7 separate regions of the Homo sapiens genome follow, and regions 2, 3, 4, 5, 6 and 7 are each linked to region 1. The links are contacts of gene promoters, found by promoter capture Hi-C in blood cells and fetal thymus (Javierre and others, 2016). All regions are on one chromosome and are shown on one strand. Each heading gives the region's core, a stretch centred on a gene start or on the middle of the fragment in contact. The rest is flanking DNA. Distances are from core to core; before and after follow the strand shown.

Evidence for each region. The method cuts DNA at HindIII sites, captures the fragments that hold promoters and counts their contacts. A CHiCAGO score of 5 or more calls a contact.
Region 2: a contact is called between a fragment that was not itself captured here and the fragment with the promoter of LYZL1 in region 1, in 1 of 17 cell types (endothelial precursors). The highest score is 5.2, in endothelial precursors.
Region 3: a fragment that was not itself captured here is called in contact with the fragment with the promoter of LYZL1 in region 1 in 1 of 17 cell types (megakaryocytes); the score reaches 5.8 in megakaryocytes.
Region 4: a fragment that was not itself captured here is called in contact with the fragment with the promoter of LYZL1 in region 1 in 4 of 17 cell types (M1 macrophages, endothelial precursors, megakaryocytes and 1 more); the score reaches 10.9 in M1 macrophages.
Region 5: the fragment with the promoter of BAMBI here is called in contact with the fragment with the promoter of LYZL1 in region 1 in 3 of 17 cell types (endothelial precursors, megakaryocytes and M2 macrophages); the score reaches 9.0 in endothelial precursors.
Region 6: a fragment that was not itself captured here is called in contact with the fragment with the promoter of LYZL1 in region 1 in 1 of 17 cell types (M0 macrophages); the score reaches 5.4 in M0 macrophages.
Region 7: a contact is called between a fragment that was not itself captured here and the fragment with the promoter of LYZL1 in region 1, in 1 of 17 cell types (M2 macrophages). The highest score is 5.2, in M2 macrophages.

The regions. Positions count from the first base shown.
Region 1 is chr10:29,287,633-29,290,471 of GRCh38, reverse strand. It overlaps LYZL1 (lysozyme like 1), which reads right to left and starts at 1,402. Exons shown (of 5, transcript NM_032517.6): 1 at 1,242-1,402. The HindIII fragment of the contact is 7,983 bases long and covers 1-2,839 here.
Region 2 is chr10:28,440,408-28,443,246 of GRCh38, reverse strand. The region is part of intron 1 of LINC02652 (long intergenic non-protein coding RNA 2652); the gene reads left to right. It overlaps LOC107984216 (a long non-coding RNA gene), which reads right to left and starts at 2,085. Exons shown (of 3, transcript XR_001747401.2): 1 at 1,993-2,085; 2 at 1,615-1,792; 3 at 874-1,089. It also overlaps the pseudogene RN7SKP39. The HindIII fragment of the contact is 1,259 bases long and covers 834-2,092 here.
Region 3 is chr10:28,610,276-28,613,114 of GRCh38, reverse strand. WAC (WW domain containing adaptor with coiled-coil) reads right to left here. Exons shown (of 14, transcript NM_016628.5): 9 at 2,294-2,416; 10 at 1,193-1,341. Among named protein-coding and RNA genes, the nearest start is that of BAMBI, 66 kb to the left of the region's middle. The HindIII fragment of the contact is 1,431 bases long and covers 667-2,097 here.
Region 4 is chr10:28,636,311-28,639,149 of GRCh38, reverse strand. No RefSeq gene overlaps it. Among named protein-coding and RNA genes, the nearest start is that of BAMBI, 40 kb to the left of the region's middle. The HindIII fragment of the contact is 5,426 bases long and covers 1-2,839 here.
Region 5 is chr10:28,676,089-28,678,927 of GRCh38, reverse strand. BAMBI (BMP and activin membrane bound inhibitor) reads right to left here and starts at 1,407. Exons shown (of 3, transcript NM_012342.3): 1 at 955-1,407. The coding sequence starts at 1,030. RefSeq lists silencers at 510-654, 1,380-1,939. The HindIII fragment of the contact is 30,480 bases long and covers 1-2,839 here.
Region 6 is chr10:28,706,054-28,708,892 of GRCh38, reverse strand. LOC105376470 (a long non-coding RNA gene) reads right to left here and starts at 864. Exons shown (of 4, transcript XR_001747282.1): 1 at 692-864. The HindIII fragment of the contact is 7,969 bases long and covers 1-2,839 here.
Region 7 is chr10:28,729,056-28,731,894 of GRCh38, reverse strand. No RefSeq gene overlaps it. Among named protein-coding and RNA genes, the nearest start is that of LINC01517, 13 kb to the left of the region's middle. The HindIII fragment of the contact is 7,767 bases long and covers 1-2,839 here.

The sequences.
Region 1 (2,839 bases), core at 153-2,652:
GGCACCTGACTGGGGAGCAAGAGGGATGGAGGACAAAGCCTCATGAAAGGAGGAAAGCACCTGGGGGAGCAGAGGGGCAATAAAGAGACCCCTGCGGAATCATCTGAAATGGGAGTAGGATCAAGAGAGCTGTCTCCTGCTGCCTACTGATTTTCCACAATCTCTTCCCCTCTTGAAATAATGTCTTCCCCAAATACAACAGCCTTGCTGGGATGGGGTGAAGTGAAATTTCTGACAACTACTCGGGATCCTGAACTTGATGTTCTTACATATGTTCATCCCGTGTCATTTTCTGCACTTGCCTAGAAACTTCTCCAGTCATTAGTTTCTCTCCCTGGGGCTGGATTCCTGCATTGAAAGGCTAGGCCCAAAACAGGGATAAGTAGTCATCAGCAAGGCCACCGCACCAAGTAACAAGCAGGGCTTTAAGGTGACTAAGCAATAAGGTAAGGAACTGCATTGCATGAGGGGCATGTACATTACAAACGTGAATAGCAAGCGTGGGCAAACCAGGCCCGCTTTTGTATGTAAAGTTTTATTGAAACATAGCTACACCCATTTGGTAATATATCATTGGTGGCTGATTTCCAACTACAGTGGCAGAGTTCAGTAATTGTGTTTGAGGCCGTATAGACCACAAAGCCTAACATATTATTATCTGGCCCTTTTCAGAGAGAGCATGCCAGTCCGCTGTGTACAGCACTGTGTTAAGCTGTGAGGGACAGACAAACGAGGTTTAAGATGCAGAGCTAAGGCCAGGCATGGTGGGTGATACCTGTAATCCAAGCACTTTGGGAGGCTGAGGTGAGCAGATTGCTTGAAGCCAGGAGTTTGAGACTAGCCTGGGCAGCAAAGGTAGACCCTGCCTCTACAAAATATACAAAAATTAGCCAGGCATGGTGGTGTGTGCCTGTGGTCCCAGCTACTGGGGAGGCTGAGGTGGGAGGATCACTTGAGGCTGGGAGTTTGAGGCCATAGTGAGCCATGATTGTGACACTGCACTCCAGCCTGGGCAGCAGAGTGAGAGACCCTGTCTAAAAAAAAAAAAAAAAAAGAAAAGAAAAAAGAAAAAAAGATACAGAGCTTACAAATAGAGTTGGTTTCCATCCCCTGCCTTAGAATTTTACTGATCTCAAACAAGTCCAAAGAAAACCCGCAGCAATGATAACCCCAAGCATCATGTTCTACATCCTTCAAGAACCTGCCATTGCTGGTTCTCATAAGAGTAATTTAGGTCTTACTGAAAAGGCAGATTCCTGGTGCCTGCCCCAGAGGCTGACTTCTCAGTTGAGTCTGCGGAAGAAACACTGCTCCACTTAGTCGGTGACAGGCAGCTCAGGGGAGCGTCCTGCATCCCCTGAAGCCATGTCTGATTCTAACGAGGCGCGAGTAATCCTTTCCTAGCTCAAGAACATTTCTTTAGAGTGTTAGAGAAAGAAAAATTCTTAATCCTTTGTTTCTCACCACCTAGAGATGCTAGAATTCTACTTCTTGGCACTAAAAGCTGTATCATCCTGCATGCTTGTGTTCTGAGGCAGGTGATAACTGTCTTCTGGGGCTTAATACCTCTTGTTTTTTGTCTTTTCCCCTCAACAACCCTCCTCATTACACAACTTGGCCAGGGCCTCCTGTCCAAGTGAGAGCTCTTCTCTGAGGCGTCTGCAAACTTTATCACAAATTCCATTAATAAAGAAAGTTAAGCATGTATCCTCTTTAGATGTACATTGAGTTATAAATCATACTTCTGTACCTCAGTACTAATATGCTACATAAATTATCAACATACATAAAACTAAAATTTGAAAATTAATGACATAGAGGTGAAATTAACATTAAAAATTTATTAACAGCACATTTGCTATAGTCAAATTATTATTAATAAAATATTTTTGTAATAACATGATTTTATTATTTTTGAAAAATTTGGCTTAACACTTTGTGAATCAATAACTAAAGGGCTGTTTTCAAGGTCTATTTATTTCAATGTTCAGATTTAGTGACACATTTGAAATGAATTCTCATTAGAATATGTAGATCTAAGTAGAAGTTTATTGTTGGCTGCACCTAACTAATCGTTATATTTTCTTAAATTCCATCTGCCAATAATGCAAAGGTTTTGTTGAAATCTATTTTGAAGTTCATATAGTATTGCATTATACAGATACAACATAGCATACTTAGCCAATTTCATATTGATGCACACTTATTTTATTCTTCTATTGTAAACATATTACAACCAGTAATTTTGTACATATGTCATTTGTAACTTTACAAGAATATCTTGCTGGATCAAAGGGTATAATTTTGTAATTTTGCTAGATATTTGCCAAATTGCCTTTCACATGGGCTTGTATCAGGAAGATAGCACACTGTGTTATCAAATGTTTCAATATTTCTCAATATTAGAGATGAAACATAATTTTTCAGCAGAGTTTCAATTTCAACTTTCGTTATTTCAAGCTGCTTGAGGGTCTTTTTTATCTTTAGAAGCCATTAGTGGACTTCTTGTGAACAGTCTATAATATGAGAAAATGTATAGGTTTTTCCCTCAAACATCTTTTTCAAAATGCTTTGAAATAGGGATCTTACCAGTGAGAAAATAGAGACGGATTGTCTTTTTCTTTTTCAAAAATGCTTGCTTAGCAAGTTTTCAGATATGACGTAAATATACAAAAGCCATTTACAATCTTATATACTAGGAATAGAAAATAAGAGTTTGAAATAAAAAAAAATCCATTTACAATAGTACACAAATGCAAATGAAGTACTTAAATTTAAACCTAACAAAATATGTGCAGGATATATATACTGACAACTATAAGACAGACGGAAAATTAAA
Region 2 (2,839 bases), core at 214-2,713, 850 kb after region 1:
GAGTACAGTGGCAAGATCATGGCTCCCTGTCCCCTCAAAATTCTGGGCTCAAGTGATCTTCCTGTCTTAGCCTCCCAAGTAGCTGGGACTACAAGCATGCACCATCATACCTAGATTAAAAAAAAATTTTTTTTTTGTAGAGGTGGGGTCTTGCTATGTTGCCCAGGCTAGTCTGGAACTCCTGAGCTCAAGTGATCCTCCCTCCTTGGCCTCACAGAGTATTGGGATTATAGGTGTGAGCCACCACACTGGGGCAAACAACAGGCAGTTTTCACTCTATTCTGGAAGAGACACCTCCTCAACTTTTGTGCTATTAAGAGTGAAGACACCTAAAGCCAAAGAAGAATGCTGGATGGAAGGGTGATGTGGCTGCAACGCTGATCACCCCATTGATGGCCAGGGTAGATTCTGCCCATCTGGGTAGCATCCTATCCAAGTCACTGCTGCACATGCCTCCTTCCTTGAACGGCCCACTGGCGGAGCAGGCTGCCTTCCCAGACAGAGGAGCACATTTCTTCAGTCCAGGGTGCGTAAGTGTCTGTGCCTCTTGCTAGAACATTCTAGTAAACTCTAGAGGCAACTGTGTGGAAGAGTGTAGTAAGGAAAGCTTCCAAGATTCCAGACAGAACCAAAGCAGATGCAGGAGCAGCCTGCCTGTCAAAAAGATAATTTATGTTCACTCACTACTTAAAACTTGAGTTCTGGAAATTGGCAAGAGAGAGATTAAAGTTGTCTGTAATTAGCTGTTACTACTTTCTACAGAGTGTTTATTGAGAGTGGAAAATCCTTTGGCCTTGTGGCCTCCTGGAAAACCCCAATTCAGTTTTCAAGCTTAACTCCAATGAGAATCTTCTCTGACCTTCTCAGGCACTTGTTTTTCCTCCCTGGAGCTCCCGCTCAGCCTGGCACATGGTTTAGTAGAACAATTTTCATTCTTCCATGATGATTGAACATTGAGATGTGTTTTTGGATCCCTCAAGGTCTGGCACTGTGTTTTACTTTTGTGCCCAGTGCTTGGGAAAGGAGGGAGGAGCGATGACTTAAATTGTAGTTCATAGATCACTGGACTGCAAAGGTCTCTTTCCAAACCTGAGGATGAGAACTGTGAATCAGAGCAAGGTTCTGGAGTATGAGCTGCAGGCAGTAGAGGAATGGGTGTGTTCTCTGCTGTAGGAAGAAAGCTGCAAACAAGAACAGATGCTCCTCCACTTATGATGGGGCTACATCCCAATAAACCCACTGTGAGTGGAAAACATCGCAAGTTGAAAATGCATCGAATAGAACTAATCTACTGAAATCATAGCTCAGCCTAGCCTACCTTAAACATGCTCAGAGCACTTATGTTTGTCCGCAGTTGGACAAAATCATCTAACGCAAAGCTGATTTTATATGAAAGTGTTAAATATCTTATGTAATTTATTGAGTACTGTATGGAAAATGAACAACAGAATGGCTGTGTGAATACCTGAAGTACTGTTTCTACTGAATTCATGTTGCTTTTGCACCATCATAAAGTCAAAAAATAATTAGTTGAAAAATTATAAGTAAGGACTGTCTGCATTTGGTGCCAAAAGAGTAGAAGGTGGCAGAAATAGAAATAGAAATAGTACTTACCAAAATTCACATTCTCTTCTTCCTGGGCACAGAGTCATATCACATTTCCCAGCCTACCTGGCAATGAGGTATGGCCGTGGGAGTGACTCCTGCCAATAGGATATGGTGGAAGTCCCACGAGGATCTCACATGAGGATCCTCCAGGCATTTCCCTCTTCTGCTGGCTGGATGCCAGTGTCTAGAGAGACCAAAATCAGAGCTGCTCCCCATCACTTTCCCCACCCAACAGGGAGCACAGGTTTGAACTCTTAAGCAAGTAAGAAATAACCTTGTGTTGTATGGGGGGTTAATTGTTACAGCAGCTGGCAATCCCTAGCTCATGCAGAGCGTTTGGCTGTTTTTCACCTGAGGCAGTGGTAGCCCAGACTCATCTCTTACCTGAAGCATTCTTGGGGTTCTTCAAGTTATAATGAGAGAGAAGACCCTTGAAGAGGAGAAAAAAATTACTCGACTGGCAAGATGAGGTTTCAGAGAAGCTTGATTTGACTATTAAGAGATATTTGATGGCCAGGCACAATGGCTCATGCCTGTAATCCCAGCACTTTGGGAGGCCGAGGTGGATAGATCACTTGAGGTCAGGAGTTCGAGACCAGCCTGGCCAACATAGTGAAACCCCATCTCTACTAAAAATACAAAAATTAGCCAGGCATACTGGTGCGCGCCTGTTATCCCATCTACTCAGGAGACTGAGGCAGGAGAATCGCTTGAACCCGGGAGGCGGAGGTTGCAGTGAGCCAAGATTGTGCCACTGCCCTCCAGCCTGGGTGACAGAGTGAGAGACTCTGTCTCAAAAAAACAAAACAAAACAAAAAACCAAAAAACAAGAGATATTTGACTTCATCTTGTACTTGAAGCTGGTGAAATGGGATGTAGCTCAGTTAACATGAGCCTTATGGTTAATATTAAACATTTATTTCTTCATTTCCTCCACTGATTCATTATTTTAATATTAGAGAAGGTTACTTAATAACATAAGAAAATACTCAAAACAAGCTGTTAAGCGAAAAAGCCTACTAGAAAATAGTAGATTCAGCATAATCCCACTTTTAAAAAGCAAGCCAAGAACCTAAAAATATATTCACATACACATTGACCTAGGAAGGTGACATCAAACTATCAAGTGGTCATTTGTAAGTAGTAATAATAAGTGTGATTTTTTATTTGTCTTTATTCTATTCAATGTTTTTCAGCCTCTTCCCAGTACACATGCATCACTTAGAGATTA
Region 3 (2,839 bases), core at 133-2,632, 680 kb after region 1:
TCAAATTATTTTTGTAGAGATGGGGTCTTGCTATATTGCCCAGGGCCTAATTCAATCCTCCTGCCTTGGCCTCCTAAGTGCTGTAATTATAGCTGTGAGCCACCGCGCCCAGCCTTCTTAAAGGAGTTGAAATGCTCAGTTTACAAGTGACTATAAAACCAATACTACCACTTATTTCACTTTTAACCACTATTTACTATACTCTTAAAATGCCACCCTGAAGACAAGTTCTAAGCTCCAAAAATAACATCTCTTTTGCCAAAACTCACATTTTAATTCTTTCCTCCTTAAAATACTGGCAAATGATAAGGAACTGCATAATAAACTAACAACTGTAACTTGGAATTTTAAAAATCAATCTAAATTGACCCTAAAACATGCAATGATCAATGGCCAAGGTAGGGAAGGGATGAACAAACGGGAAGACTTAAAAGCTGACCAACCACCTCTTTCAAGTTATATTTCAATGCATTTTTATTTTTGGGCTTCTGCTTAATATCTTACAAAGAATTATTTGGCATTAAAAAGTCTGAAACAGCCCACTGTTTCAAAACTACTCAAAAGAAATTCCCCCTACATTTACCATTTAGACCAGCAATTTTCTAACTGCACCTATGGAGCCAACCATGTAAGATTCTGCTGGGACAAATACAGGCAATATAAGCTTAGTAAAATGGGTCCCTGTATTCACAAACACCTAGGTTTCAAATTCTGACTCTACCACAAAAACTTAACTGAGAGTTTGATTTTCTCATCTATTAAATAAAGCAAGTGATTCTCACGATGTGAAAGCTAAACATACATTAAGTTCTTAGCACAGAAACTGCCTCATTTTTGAAATACAAATATGGAAAAGTCACTGGAAAACATGTTCATTCATGTCTTTTGGAGTTTGAAAATTCTACAAATATTAAGACTCAGTATATCCTCTTTATCTCACTCTCCATGTGACAAATCCCAAAACCATTAGGGAACAGACTCAGATGGTTTATTAAAGTAGCACAGATTCAAAGCCCCCCTCTATCCCTCAGTGAACTGAGAAATTCTAGGCTGCATCTACTATCATACCTGTCATTCATTCCACCACTACACCTCATTCTCAGAGGGCTTTTTCTATAACAGATTCTAAAATGTTATTGACTTTCCAAAAGTAAGTAGTTTCTTTTCCGAATGTCCCTCAAAGGTGACATACCTTTGGCTGTGATGAAACAGGAGGAGTACTGATCAAAGGTTTGATAGGGACTGTGTTAGTTTGAGGTGTGCTTATTCTTGGAGAAACATATGATCTTGGGGATGACGCATCAGATGTTAAAGACATCGGAGACTGATTAGATGGCTGGGCTGTAAAAGAGGGAAGCAATTAATTTTAAAGAAAAACAAAACAAAACAAAAAACTAAAGTCCTTTGTAATATATGTGGCAAAGATATTTGTATTACTCTAAACCCCCCCACCCCCATATTACCCAGAGAACACTTATTGGAATAAATCAGAATCTGACCTTCTCACTGGGCCACACTGACTAAGTGAGCTGTGTGTTCAGAGGTAAGCACACCCAGTGTGGCCCACTCTCCTTTATGTGGCTGGAACAGGAAGCTAGGCCTGAACCTAATCTCACATGGAAGGCCTCCTCACCATCCTTATTTCTTCTTTCTTATTCTACATTTAGGCCCAGGTATCCCACGCAGTCTCCTGCTCATGAGGCTAGCCAGAGGGTTGCAAGAGTCTTTGCACCATTATACTTCCATTCCAGACAAGGCATTCCTGCTGTTTATCAGCTTTCTGACAAAGTGACCCTTTCACTTCCCATTTGCTCCTATGTGTATCTCTCTCCATTTGGATACCTTCATGAAGAGGGATATCTAATTCAAGGCAGAAAATGAGCATTTCCATATTATCCAGTCAAAAAACATCTAACGTCAATCTGAACCAAACTTCAACTCTTCAAATACATGCAATGTTTCACAAAGATATATGGCACATCATAGTTTACTTTCAGCTTTGGCATAAAAAAACTCATTAATAACAAAGTCTGAATTAAATACTGTCTTAAATAATTACAGATTTGATGGCAATACCTTAAGACAAATGTCAAAGCTTGCTTCATCTAAAAAGAAAGGAAATAAAAATACTACTGTATATGCCAGTGTTACAAAAAAAACAAAATTATTGTAGCTAATCTCTTAAAAAACTAAAAAAAAAAATGAAAGAAAAAACTAAATACAAAAAAGGGCTATTAATTCCAAAACAAAATCAAGATGCCATTCTAGAGATATCTAAGATGAGTAAGAATACCTTGTGTAGAGAGCTGAGCAGCTTGAGAAATCAGAGACGTTATGTTGAAAGCAGATGGTCCAGCAGTAAGAAACTTATGAATTATAGACTGCAGTGAGGCTTGTGTCACAGCTGCTGTAAGAACTAAAAACATATTATTTCATACATTCATATAAAAACAAGAGGCTTATGTGGCATTAGTAACAACCTGACAAGGAAGAGAACTCACAAGAAACTGGAATATTTCAACCTAGAACTCTCAAAATAAAAGCCTACTAGATAGGAGTAATACAATGGGTCCCAAATTTGAAATGATCTGAGGCAGAGAAAAAGAAACTTAATGGGTTTACAATAAAGGTAAACCAACAGAGTTTCTTTTACACTAATTAAGATGATCACCTGAACAAAGTCTCTCTACAAAATTTAACGAGTGTTCACAGGAACTTCCAATTATGTCAGAAACCTATTCATATGTGAGTGTTCAGTATGTTATATGGAATTAACTGGATAAACAACTGCTATTTCATGTGATTGCCCTTTTAGACAAGCTGGCCATTCAAATCCTAT
Region 4 (2,839 bases), core at 245-2,744, 650 kb after region 1:
CTATTTTCCCCTTATTGAATTGTAAGCAATTTTCTTCTTGTCATTAAATATCTTGGAAAACAAAACAAACAAGTCATAAATTGTGAAGTAATATTCGTAATACACACATCAATAAAAAAAGAGGATCTTCCCTATAGAAAGAGTTTCCTAAAGTCAACATTTTATATGATCATTTTTCACTCATCAGATTACCAATATATAATAAGAATGACAGTGCCTGGGCCAGAAAGGGTGTGACAAAGGGCATTCTCTTCAATGTTGCTGGCCAGATTAATTGGTCCATACTGCTGGAGGTCAGTTTGGCATTGTCAAAAGTCTTAAAAATAGATATTCCTTTTGGCCTAGCAATTTTGCATCTCAGAATTTCTCCTGAGCACTAAACAATCAAGTAATGTTACATATATAAGAATGTTATCTAAAGCACTATAAAAAATTAAGAAAAGCCTCCAGACTAGCTTACTGAAGTAGGCCAAAAAATTTTTTTTAATTAAAAAACTTTTAAAAAAAACCAACCTTGATGTCTAACAACAGGTGGTTGTCAGGAAATAAATGATGATATTGCTGTACTTAGAATAATATGTGGGCAGTAAAAATCATCATGTGGTTCTATGTTCCTTGACATGCAATGATATCCATCTATATGTTAAGTGTAAAGAGAAGTTAACAAAACAATATGGATGGGATGATTCTAGTTTTGTAAAGATATATTTTGTTTGTATAAGTTAACTAATTAAAAAAATCTGGAGATATATCTGTGTGTATATATATACATACATATATAAACAATGGTTATCCTTGAATAGAATAAATAAAGGATGTTTTATTTTTCTCCTTACACATTTCAATATTTTTCAAGCAATTTTTTTTCTTTTTTGAGACAGGGATCTTGCTCTGTTGCCCAGGCTGGAGTTCAGTGGCACTATCATAGCTCACTGCAGCCTCGAACTCCAGGCTAAAGTGATCCTCCCACCTCAGCCTCCCGAGTAGCTGGGACTAAAGTTGTGAACCACTATGTCCAATTTTTTATTTTTGTAGAGATGGGGTCTAATTATGTTTTCCAGGCTGGTCTCAAATTTCTGAGCTCAAACGATCCTCCTGCCTTGGCCTCCCAAACTGTTGGGATTATAGCTGTGAACCACTGCATCTGGCTTTTTTTTTTTTTTTTTTTAATGAGCATGTGTTTACTTTAAATTGGGGGTGGTTGCAGTGGTAGTAACTTTCCACTTTGAAAAAAACATTTCACAAAAACATAAAAAAATAATTGTGGTCCTTCTACATGAAATGACTGAGCAGTTACCAAAAATCCAATTTTGGTTTTGCATTTTCCCCCAAGACGGAAAGCTCTGTTTTGTCTACAATGCTCCTGGCAGAGGCTATGTTCCCTGCGTTCCCCTGTGTCTTCTCCCCAGCCCTTCTGAATACGTTGGCTTGGTTCAACCTAAATAACAATCAGCTAGTTCGACTCTAAGTCCTTGGAGCAGAAGGTGCAGATTAGTTTAATCTCATAAATAAACTAATTCCTCTGGAAGCAAGGACAAGTCACAGCTTAATTCAGATCTTCTTCCAATCAATGAAATCTTCGCTGGTGTGGACCAGGTGATCCGCTCAGGCTAGCAGCCCGATGGGTAAGGACACATGAGTCTCACCAGGACCCTGGGACCCCAGCCAGTAACACACAGTACTAGTACCCTCACAGTGGCCATGTAATTTATCATCCAAACAGAAACTGGTTTTTTTTTCTTTCTTTTTTTTCTTGAGACAGAGTCTTGCTCTGTCACCCAGGCTGGAGTATAGTGGCATGATCTCGGCTCACTGCAACCTCTGCCTCCCGGGTTCAAGCAATCCTCCTGCCTCAGCCTCCTGAGTAGCTGGGATTACAGGCATGCACCACCATGCTGGCTAATTTTTGTATTTTTAGTACAGACAGGGTTTCACCATGTTGGCCAGGCTGCTCTCGAACTCCTGACCTCAGGTAATCTGCCCGCCTCAGCCTCCCAAAATGCTGGGATGATAGGCGTGAGCCACTGCACCCATGATAGAAACACTTTTGAGAGGGAAATTTAGGGTTACTTGAGGTGCCAGTTCAACAGACATAAGTGGAACATTGCCAAGCAAACCAGGCTGCAGGGTCGCCCTCCCCAAGATGCTCATGGCTTTTAAGCTGAGATGAAGGCCTGTGGTCAGTGCCTACAGAAGCACAGTCCCACCTGCTCTGCCCTACTCAGGAATTCCTGAGATATAAGAGCAGTCAACCTCACTGGATTTATGGGTGACTTTGGGGTCTAACAGGGAGGGCTGAAAAAGAGCTCAAAAAACAAAGGTGGGTTCTTTATCTTATTTCACAAGCCTGGTTTTGTGTGTTTGGCAGGTGTTGCAGTAACCCCCTGACCGGAACAGCCCAGTAGCATGCCTGGATAGAGAAACCCTGCTCCATGCACACTTGCAACACAAGCCGCCCTGAGTCCGTGCAGGCCTGCAGGTACAGACAGGACCTCGTGGGAGGTCACTCCTGCAGCTTCATGGGCACTGTCATATCCAGTCTAAGGCTGGACCCTGCTCTCTGAAACCTCACTCAGTCACTTTCTTTTTTTCTTTCCTTTTTTTTTTTTTTTTTTTTTTGAGACAGAGTCTTGCTCTGTTGCCCAGGGTGGAGTGCAGTGGCACGACCTTGGCTCACCGTAACCTCTATCTCCCAGGTTCAGGTGAGTCTCCTGCCTCAGCCTCCTGTGTAGCTGGGATTACAGGCACCTGCCACCATGTCTGGCTAATTTTATATTTTTAGTAAAGACAGGGTTTCACCATGTTGGCCAGGCTGGTCTCACACTCCTGACATCAAGTG
Region 5 (2,839 bases), core at 158-2,657, 610 kb after region 1:
GGTGAGGAGAACCTTGAAATTCGGAGACAGTTCGGGTTATTTCTTTCTAAAAGGTGAAAGCCTGCAGAGGAAAGAAGAAACTGACCCGCTGCCTTTTTTTTTTTTTTGGTCCTGTTTGTAAAATATGAGGTGAGTGGCAGTGAGACGCTGACAGAGCCTACTCCTCCCGGCTGCTGAAAAGCAACACAACACACACTTCTGCACACCTCGGACACCTAAACTCTCAGGGAGACCCACACACTCGCTCGCACACAGAGAGATGTACGCAGAGACACACTCACACAGAGACTCAGATGCACATTCAGAGATACAAAGACACTTAGAGACAGACACAGAAATGCATTCAGAAAGACACACTCAAGATCAGAGATACAGAGACTCACACATTCAGAGACACAAAGACTCAGAAAGAGACACAGAAATGCATTCAGAGATACATTCAAAGAGACACAGAGATACGCTGAGTGATACAGAGGTTCAGACACACTTTCAGAAACACAACGACACTCAGAGACACAAAAATGCATTTAGGGATACTGAGACTCAGAGACACACTCACAGAAATACACCCTGAGGCACTCACACAGACACGCTGAGGGCACGCGGCAGCTACAGGCCAGGATCTGCGATTCCTCCCGGCCGCCCGAGCCCCCAGGGTGCGGAAGCGGCGGCGTCGAGGCCGAGACTCCGGCCCCGCTCCCCGCTGGGCTGCAAACGCGCCGCTCCCCGCAGGCAGAGCCAGGAGGACCCTCTGATCAGCGCCTGCCCTTAGATCGGAGTCCGCATCCACGCGCCAGGCCACCGCCGCGACTTCTAAGAACACAGCAACTTGTCGCGACCTGCGGCTCCGGCGCAGGAGGGAGCCTCGCCTGCCGCTAACAAAGCCTCTGCAGCCGGCTCCAAAGCCCCGCGGCGAGGACGGGACCCCGGGCCCCGTGCGCCCCCGGCACCCACCTTTGGTGAGCAGCACGGCCATGGCGCAGAGCTCCAGCTGCAGCCAGATGAAGATGTAGCTGGAGTGGCGATCCATTGACGCCCCGCACGGCCGCGGCGCCCCCGCCGGCTTCCGGAGCCCCGGCTCGGCGGCAGCCTACGACCCCCGGAGCGCGCAGGGCATGGGCCCTGCCCGGAGCGGCGGGCGCCGTCAGCGGCGGGGCTGGGTTTCGGGCCGCTGCCGGAGCATGGAGCGCGGCTACAGGGCGCGCCCAGGAGCCCAGAAAAGTTTCCCGGTCCCCCGTCGGCGGCCACTGGCTCCCTTGCCCCGCTCGACTCTAGGGACGCACGCTAGCCCCGGGTCGGGAGTGGGCTCCCGGCCTTCAGTCCCCGCTAGCGGCCGTTCTCAGCGAAGAGAGTAGGGTCTCCACAGCACGCAAGGGTATCCGCCGCAGCTCCCGCCCGCGCCAGCCCAGGTCTCTCCGGCTCCGCGCCGTAAATAGCGCCCCGCGCCGGGAGCCGGCCTGCACCGCCCCGCCTCGCCCCGCCCCACGGCGTCCGATTGGCCGCCGGGCTCCTGTCAATCCGCCCCGCAGCGGGGGGCGGGCCCAGACGCGAGCGCTGGGGGACCTGCCCGGCGGCTCCGAGCGGCGCCGGCGTCTGGGGCGCCCGGCTGGGGCGCCCGGCTGGTGCGCTGCCGTCTCCCGCGCTCCCCCTTGCGGAGGCCTGCGCGTCAGTGACCTTCGCGAGGCGCCGGGGGAGCCCAGCCCCGGGACCGGCTCGGGAACCCGCCTCCGAGACCCTGACGGCTCAGCCTCGGGTGGTCAGCGTTCCCCAGCGCGGGGCTTCTTTTGGGTGCCCCCCGAAACACGCAGGGGGTCCGTGTGGTCGTCCTCCCCGGCCGCACTGCGTTTTCTGGAACCCCCAGGGGCGAGTGACAATGCCCCGGCCTGTGCAGGTGGCGGAGGAGGGTTCGGGTGGGAGCCCGGGGGAGGCGGCCCAGCGCTGGGGTCTGCATTCAGCCTTCGCCCCCCACCCCCTCAGCGTGTCCGCCTCGAGCTGCCCGCCATGGGATCAATAAAGCCCAGACAGACTGACTGTTGATCCGTTAGGAGCCGCTAGGTTCTCCCGGGTACGCGGGACGAGTAGCGGGCTAGAGACACTTAACGAAAATTAGCAAATCCAAAAGCACCCGGCGCCAACGAGACGACACTGGCCGAGACTGACACTCAATTAACCACCCCCCAAACAATGGCTGGCAAACACGCCGGCTGACCCTGATCAATATCAGCCCCGCAGTGATCTCCTCCTTGAGATGCTAATTCATTTATTAGGGATCGCGGGGCTGCCCTTCCCAAGGTACTCAAGGTGGTCTTGCTGTAGTTTTGTTTCCCCCTCCGCTTTGGAAGGAATTAAGGTTAAAACTCATTATCTGAGGGAATGTTCTTTTATCCTCTCCCTCCAAAACCTGAGATGAACAAAAGTCGACCATTTGCAAAATTCTTCTTGAGAATCTGCCAGAGCTTCCCTACCGGATATGTCAAAAGGGGGTGGGGGGTGGGGAAGGAAAGAAAGAGAAGCACATTTCATGCTAAGGTGAGAATTATAAAGACAAATCCTTTAGGACTAGAGTGCAGACATGAGCTTTGAGACTAAGAAAAATGTACATATGTCTTGAGGACTGAAAGTCAAGGCGAACATATCTCAAACGCCTAACCTTTTAAAGTTGTTGAAAGTCTGCAGAGCTGCAGGATGTAGTTAATGAAATTGTCTTTGAAAAATAATGTTTATGTGCAGAAAAATAAAATAATTTCATAAACTGATGCTCAGACCATTACTTCTCTAGATCAAAATTGCATCTAAAAGGAGAGAAGGAGAAATCCAGTAGAAGTTTTAAAAGAAAATT
Region 6 (2,839 bases), core at 206-2,705, 580 kb after region 1:
ATTCTTAAAAGTCCAAGTTTCAATAAAGGAGGGAAAAAAGGAAAATAAATGGGAAGTTGAGATTTCTTCACAAGAAGATAATCGTGTCTGCTTGTGGCAGCTTGAGATGAGATGATGTGTAAACTCTGCCTCAGTGGTAACAGTAATAGCCACTTGTTGAGTAGCTACTCTGTGCAAAGAATTGTGCCAGGCACTTTGCGTATGTCTTCTTCTTCTTTTTTTTTTTTTTTTTTGACAGAGTTTTGCTCTCATCGCCCAGGCTGGAGTGCAGTGGCTCCATCTCGGCTCACTGCAACCTCCGCCTCCTGGGTTCAAGCAATTCTCCTGCCTCAGCCTCCTGAGTAGCTGGGACTACAGGCGTGTGCCACCTCGCCCGGCTAATTTTTTATATTTTTAGTAGAGATGGGGTTTCACCATGTTGGCCAGGCTGGTCTCGAACTCCTGACCTCAGGTGATCCGCCCACCTCGGCCTCCCAAAGTGCTGGGATTACAGGCATGAGCCACCGTGCCCGACCTCTTTGTGTATGTCTTTTTATTTAACCCTCTGAGATAGCTGATATGAGCCACACAGAGGCTGAGCAACCTGCTCAAGGAGCAGACTTAGGCTTGCCTGACTTATGGGCCCCCCTGCCCACCAGATTGACCTCCCTGACTCTTCAGTCTCCCATCTACCTTGGACAGATTCACTTACCCACCAACGTGCAGCAGTTTAAAGAAGACATCCTTTCATTCATCCATTGACTCATCAGTGAAGAAATTAACATTGTATAGCGCTCTTTCCAAAAACAATATGGCCAGGCTGTCTAGATCCCTCCCCTCAACCTTCGCCCTGACCACAACCACCACCCCAAGCACCCTGATCACAGCTACCACCCCAAGCCCCCACCCCAACCTGAGACATGTGGCAATTTCACTCCTTGTCCCTTGAGTCCATACCTCCATAACTCAGCATGTCACATGCATACCCATTGTGAAAAATATCCATTATCACCATAGTATTACCAACACATTATTACAGGGCTTTACATGTCACAGAACTCTTTCTGATGAATTATTTCATTTGATAATTACCTTAGGCTGAGGGAGGAGGGAGAAAGATAAATTATTTAAGGCTGGGCACGATGGCTCATGACCTTAATCCCAGCACTTTGGGAGGCCAAGGCAAGAGGATTGCTTGAGCCCAGGAGTTCAAGACCAGCCTGGGCAATATAGAGAGACTCTATCTCTATAAAAAAATACAAAAATTAGCTTAGCATGGTGGCTCATGCCTGTAGTCCCAGCTACTTGGGGGCGCTGAGGCCAGAGGATCACTTGAGCCCGGTAGGTTGAGGCTGCAGTGAGCTGTGATCATACCTCTGTACCCCAGCCTGGATGACAAAGTGAGACCCTGTCTCAAAAAAATTAATTAATTAAATTTAATTTAAAAATTAAAAAATTGGCCAGGTGTGACAGCTCATGCCTGTAATCCCAGCACTTTGGGAGGCTGAGGTAGGCAGATCACAAGGTCAGGAGTTCGAGACCAGCTTGGCCAACATGGTGAAACCCCATCTCTACTAAAAATACAAAAAGTTAGCCGGGCATGGTGGTGTGCATCTATAATCTCAGCTACTCAGGAGGCTGAGGCAGGAGAATCACTTGAACCTGGGAGGTGGAGGTTGCAGTGAGCTGAGATTGCACCATTGCACTCCAGCCTGGGTGACAGATAAGAGATTTCGGGAAAAAAAATTAAAAATTAAACTAACTAATTAATTAATACTAATAAAATTATTTAGGCCAGGTGCAGTGGCTCATGCCTGTAATCCCAGCAGTTTGGGAGGCTGAGGTGGGTAGATCACTTGAGGTCAGGAGTTTGAGACCAGCCTGGCCAACATGGTGAAACCCCATCTCTACTAAAAATACAAAAGTTAGCCCGGCGTGGTGGCAGGCGCCTGTAATCTCAGCTACTCAGGAGGCTGAGGTGTGAGAATAGCTTGAACCCGGGAGGCGGAGGTTGCAGTGAGCCGAGGTCGTGCCACTGCATTCCAGCCTGGGTAACAGAGCAAGACTCCATCTCAAAAAAGAAAAAAACCAAGCTGGTTACAGGTTGGTTGCAACCTGGTTACATTGTCACTTGATTGTATAGTATTTTGGTTTCCAGAAGCTCCTATATTAGGCTGAAGGGTGAAGAAGTTATCATTTTCCAACACATCTGCCTTTTTCTCCCCTTGCTTGAATCTCCAATATTTATCCCACCCAGTTCCTTTCTTTATCCTCTACTCTTCACTTTCAAGAAAAAATAGGGCCAGGAGCAATGGCTTACACCTGTAATCCCAGTGCTCTGGGAGGCCAAGGTGGGAGGCTCACATGAGGCCAGGAATTCAAGACCAACATGGGCAGCATAGCAAGAACTCCACTCATCTCTACAAAAAAAAAAAAAAAAAAAGAAAGAAAGAAAAAGAAAAAGAAAAGAAAAGAAATTGAGGAATTGACTGGTCATGGTTGTGCATGCCTGTAGTTCCAGCTACTCAGGATGCTCCTGAGGCAGAAGGATCACTTGAGCTCAGGAGTTCAAGGCTGCAGTGAGCTATGATTGTGCCGCTGCACTCCAGCCTGGGCAACACAGAGCAAGATTCCGTCTCTTAAAAGAAGCGACAGAAAAAAAAGAACAGAACCTATTTGCATGCACTAAAGTATAATAACTGAGAACAGATCAAAATGTAACTCTTGCCACGCCATTTTTATCAATAGGGATTCAATGTCTTATCGAAAGGCATAGTTTTAAAAGTTCACACGTTAGCTGATGGGTCGGGAGAAATGGCAGCGAGAGAGCAGCAGAGCTTCTGGAATTAGAAAACACACA
Region 7 (2,839 bases), core at 238-2,737, 560 kb after region 1:
GCCTGGGCAACATGGCGAGATCCCTGTCTCAACAGAAAAATACAAAAATTAGTGGGCGTGGTGGTGTGTGCCTGTAACCCCAGCTACTTGGGAGGCAGAGGTGGGAGGATCGCTTCAACCCAGGTGGCAGAGGTTTCAGTGAGCTGAGATCCATGCCACTGCACTCCTACCTGGGTGACAGAGCAAGATTCTGTCACAAAATAAATAAATACAACAGAAAGGGAAAAACAAAACAGATCTTAAGCAAAGTCCTTACCCTTCAAAATGAGTCTTGTAACAATAGAAACAAGAAGACTGGGCGCAGTGGCTCACGCCTGTTATCCCAGCACTTTGGGAGGCCAAGGCTGGTAGATCCCTTGAGGCCAGGAGTTTGAGACCAGCCTGGCCAACATAGAGAAACCCCATCTCTACAAAAAATACAGAAATTGACCAGGCATGGTGGTGCAGGCCTATAATCCCAGCTACTCGGGAGGCTGACACACAAGAATTGCTTTAATCTGGGAGGCAGAGGTTGCAGTGAGCCGAGATTATGCCACTGCACTACAGCCTGGGTGACAGAGTGAAACTCTGTCTAGAAAGAAAAGGAAAAGAAAAGAAAAGACAGAGAGAGAAAGAGAGAGAGAGAGAAACAGAGAGAGAAAGAGAGGAAGAAAGAAGAAAGAAAAGAAAGAAAAAAAGAAAGAAAAGAAAGAAGAAAGAAAGGAGGGAGGGAAGGAAGGAAGAAAGAAAGAAAGAAAGAAAGAAAGAAAGAAAGAAAGAAAGAAAGAAAGAAAAAAGAAAGAAAGAAAGAAAAGAAAGAAAAGAAAAGAAAAGAAAGAAAAGAAAAGAAAAGAAAGAAAAGAAAAGAAAGCAAGCAAGCAAACAGGCCGGGCACGGTGGCTCATGCCTGTAATCCCAGCACTTTGGGAGGCCAAGATGAGGGATCACCTGAGGTCAGGAGTTCGAGACCAGCCTGTCCAACATGGCGAAAACCCATCTCTACTAAAAATACAAAAATTTGCTGGGTGGTGGCATGCGCCTGTAATCCCAACTACTCCGGAGGCTGAGGCAGGAGAATCACTTGAACTCAGGAGGCAGAGGTTACAATGAACTGAGATTGCGCTACTGCACTCCAGCCTGGGCAACAGAGCGAGATTCTGTCAAAAAAAAAAAAAGGAAGGAAGGAATGAGGAAAGGAAAGGGGAAAGGAAAAGGAAAGGAAAAAGGCACTGGACGGATTTTAATCGACTGTCAAGTCTACAAAGTCAAAATCAGTGTAAACATTTGGTTTCGTTTTCTGTCTCATTCCCCTGCATAACTGAACTCTGACAACAGGATAGGAAGCCAGAATCCCTCACTCCTGGCTCCTCTCATCTCTTCCAGCTCCAGCCCTGGGCATCACCTGAAGCCAAAACAGCCCCACTGGTAACCCCTAGCCAAGGTAGCGCTCACACCCCCAATTTAAACCCATTATTCTCTTTAGAAGAACCTGGAAGAAAATGTAGCATTCAAGAGGCCTCAAGCAAGCAGCTCTTTAGAAACAATTATCTCCTGCAAACTGTGGATGCCACTTTTTTTTTTCCTTTCTACTTTTTGGCACAAAACCCTTTAAAAATAGTGACTTACTGTTGCCTAACAGGATTAAATTCTTAACTGAGGCATTTTCGTCTAATCCATGCACTACCTTCTAATCCCCTGTGAGTCAGAATGTAAGGAAAAGTTTCTATTTTGACTCAAAAAACACATTCTTAGAAGTCCCCACACCCTTGCACTCCTCAGAGCCTCCTTGCTGAACAGGGCAACCCCAAAATGAATCTTCAACTGCGGCCTCAGGGAGAAAATTCTCAAAAGGACCTTAGCTCTAAATCCAGATCAACTCTTATTTACCACCCGATCTTGCCTTGAGCCACGACTTTTTTGCTCTTTTTTTTTTTTTTTTTTTTTGTCTCACTCTTGTTGCTTAGACTGGAGTGAAATGGCGCGGTCTTGGCTCACTGCAACCTCTGCCTCCCGGGTTCAAGCGATTCTCGTGCCTCAGCCTCCCAAGTAGCTGGGATTACAGGCTGTAATTGTGCCACCACATCCAGCTAATTTTTGTATTTTTAGTAGAGACGGGGTTTCACCATGTTGGCCAGGCTGGTCTTGAACTCCTGACCTCAGGTGATCTGCCTGCCTCAGCCTCCCAAAGTGCTGGGATTACAGGCGTGAGCCCCCATGCCTGGCCTCCTCTTTCCTTTTCCCTTCTTTTCTTTGATGTACAAGCAACAGAGATGTTCCTTCTTAGGGCAAGTGAACATTCCAGAGATCTTTCAAGGAAAAGGTCCCCTTGGAGCCGTGTTCCTGTGGACAAACTCAATGTTTCATTCTATGCTACAGATTTTATTTTGAAAATCTTAACCAGAGACTCATCAAGCATCACCAATCCATTCTAGATATTCCTTATTGTTGGAAATGTAGGAAAAATAATATTGAAGTAGGAATTAAAGCATCTAGATTTTTGTTTTGTTTTGTTTTTTTGTTTTTTGTTTTGTCTCATTCTGTCACCCAGGTTGGAGTGCAGAGGCGTGATCTCGGCTCACTGCAACCTCCACCTCCGGGGTTCAAGCAATTCTCCTGCCTCAGACTCCTGAGTAACTGGGACTACAGGTGCCTGCCACCACGCCCGGCTAATTTTTGTATTTTTAGTAGAGACAGGGTTTCATCATATTGGCCAGGCTGATCTCGAACTCCTGACCTTGTGATCCACCCACCTCAGCCTCCCAAAGTGCTGGGATTACAGGCGTGGGCCATCGTGCCCAGCCTAGATTTTATTTTATTTGTATTTATTTATTTTTTTAGAGACAGGGTCTCACTCTGTCAC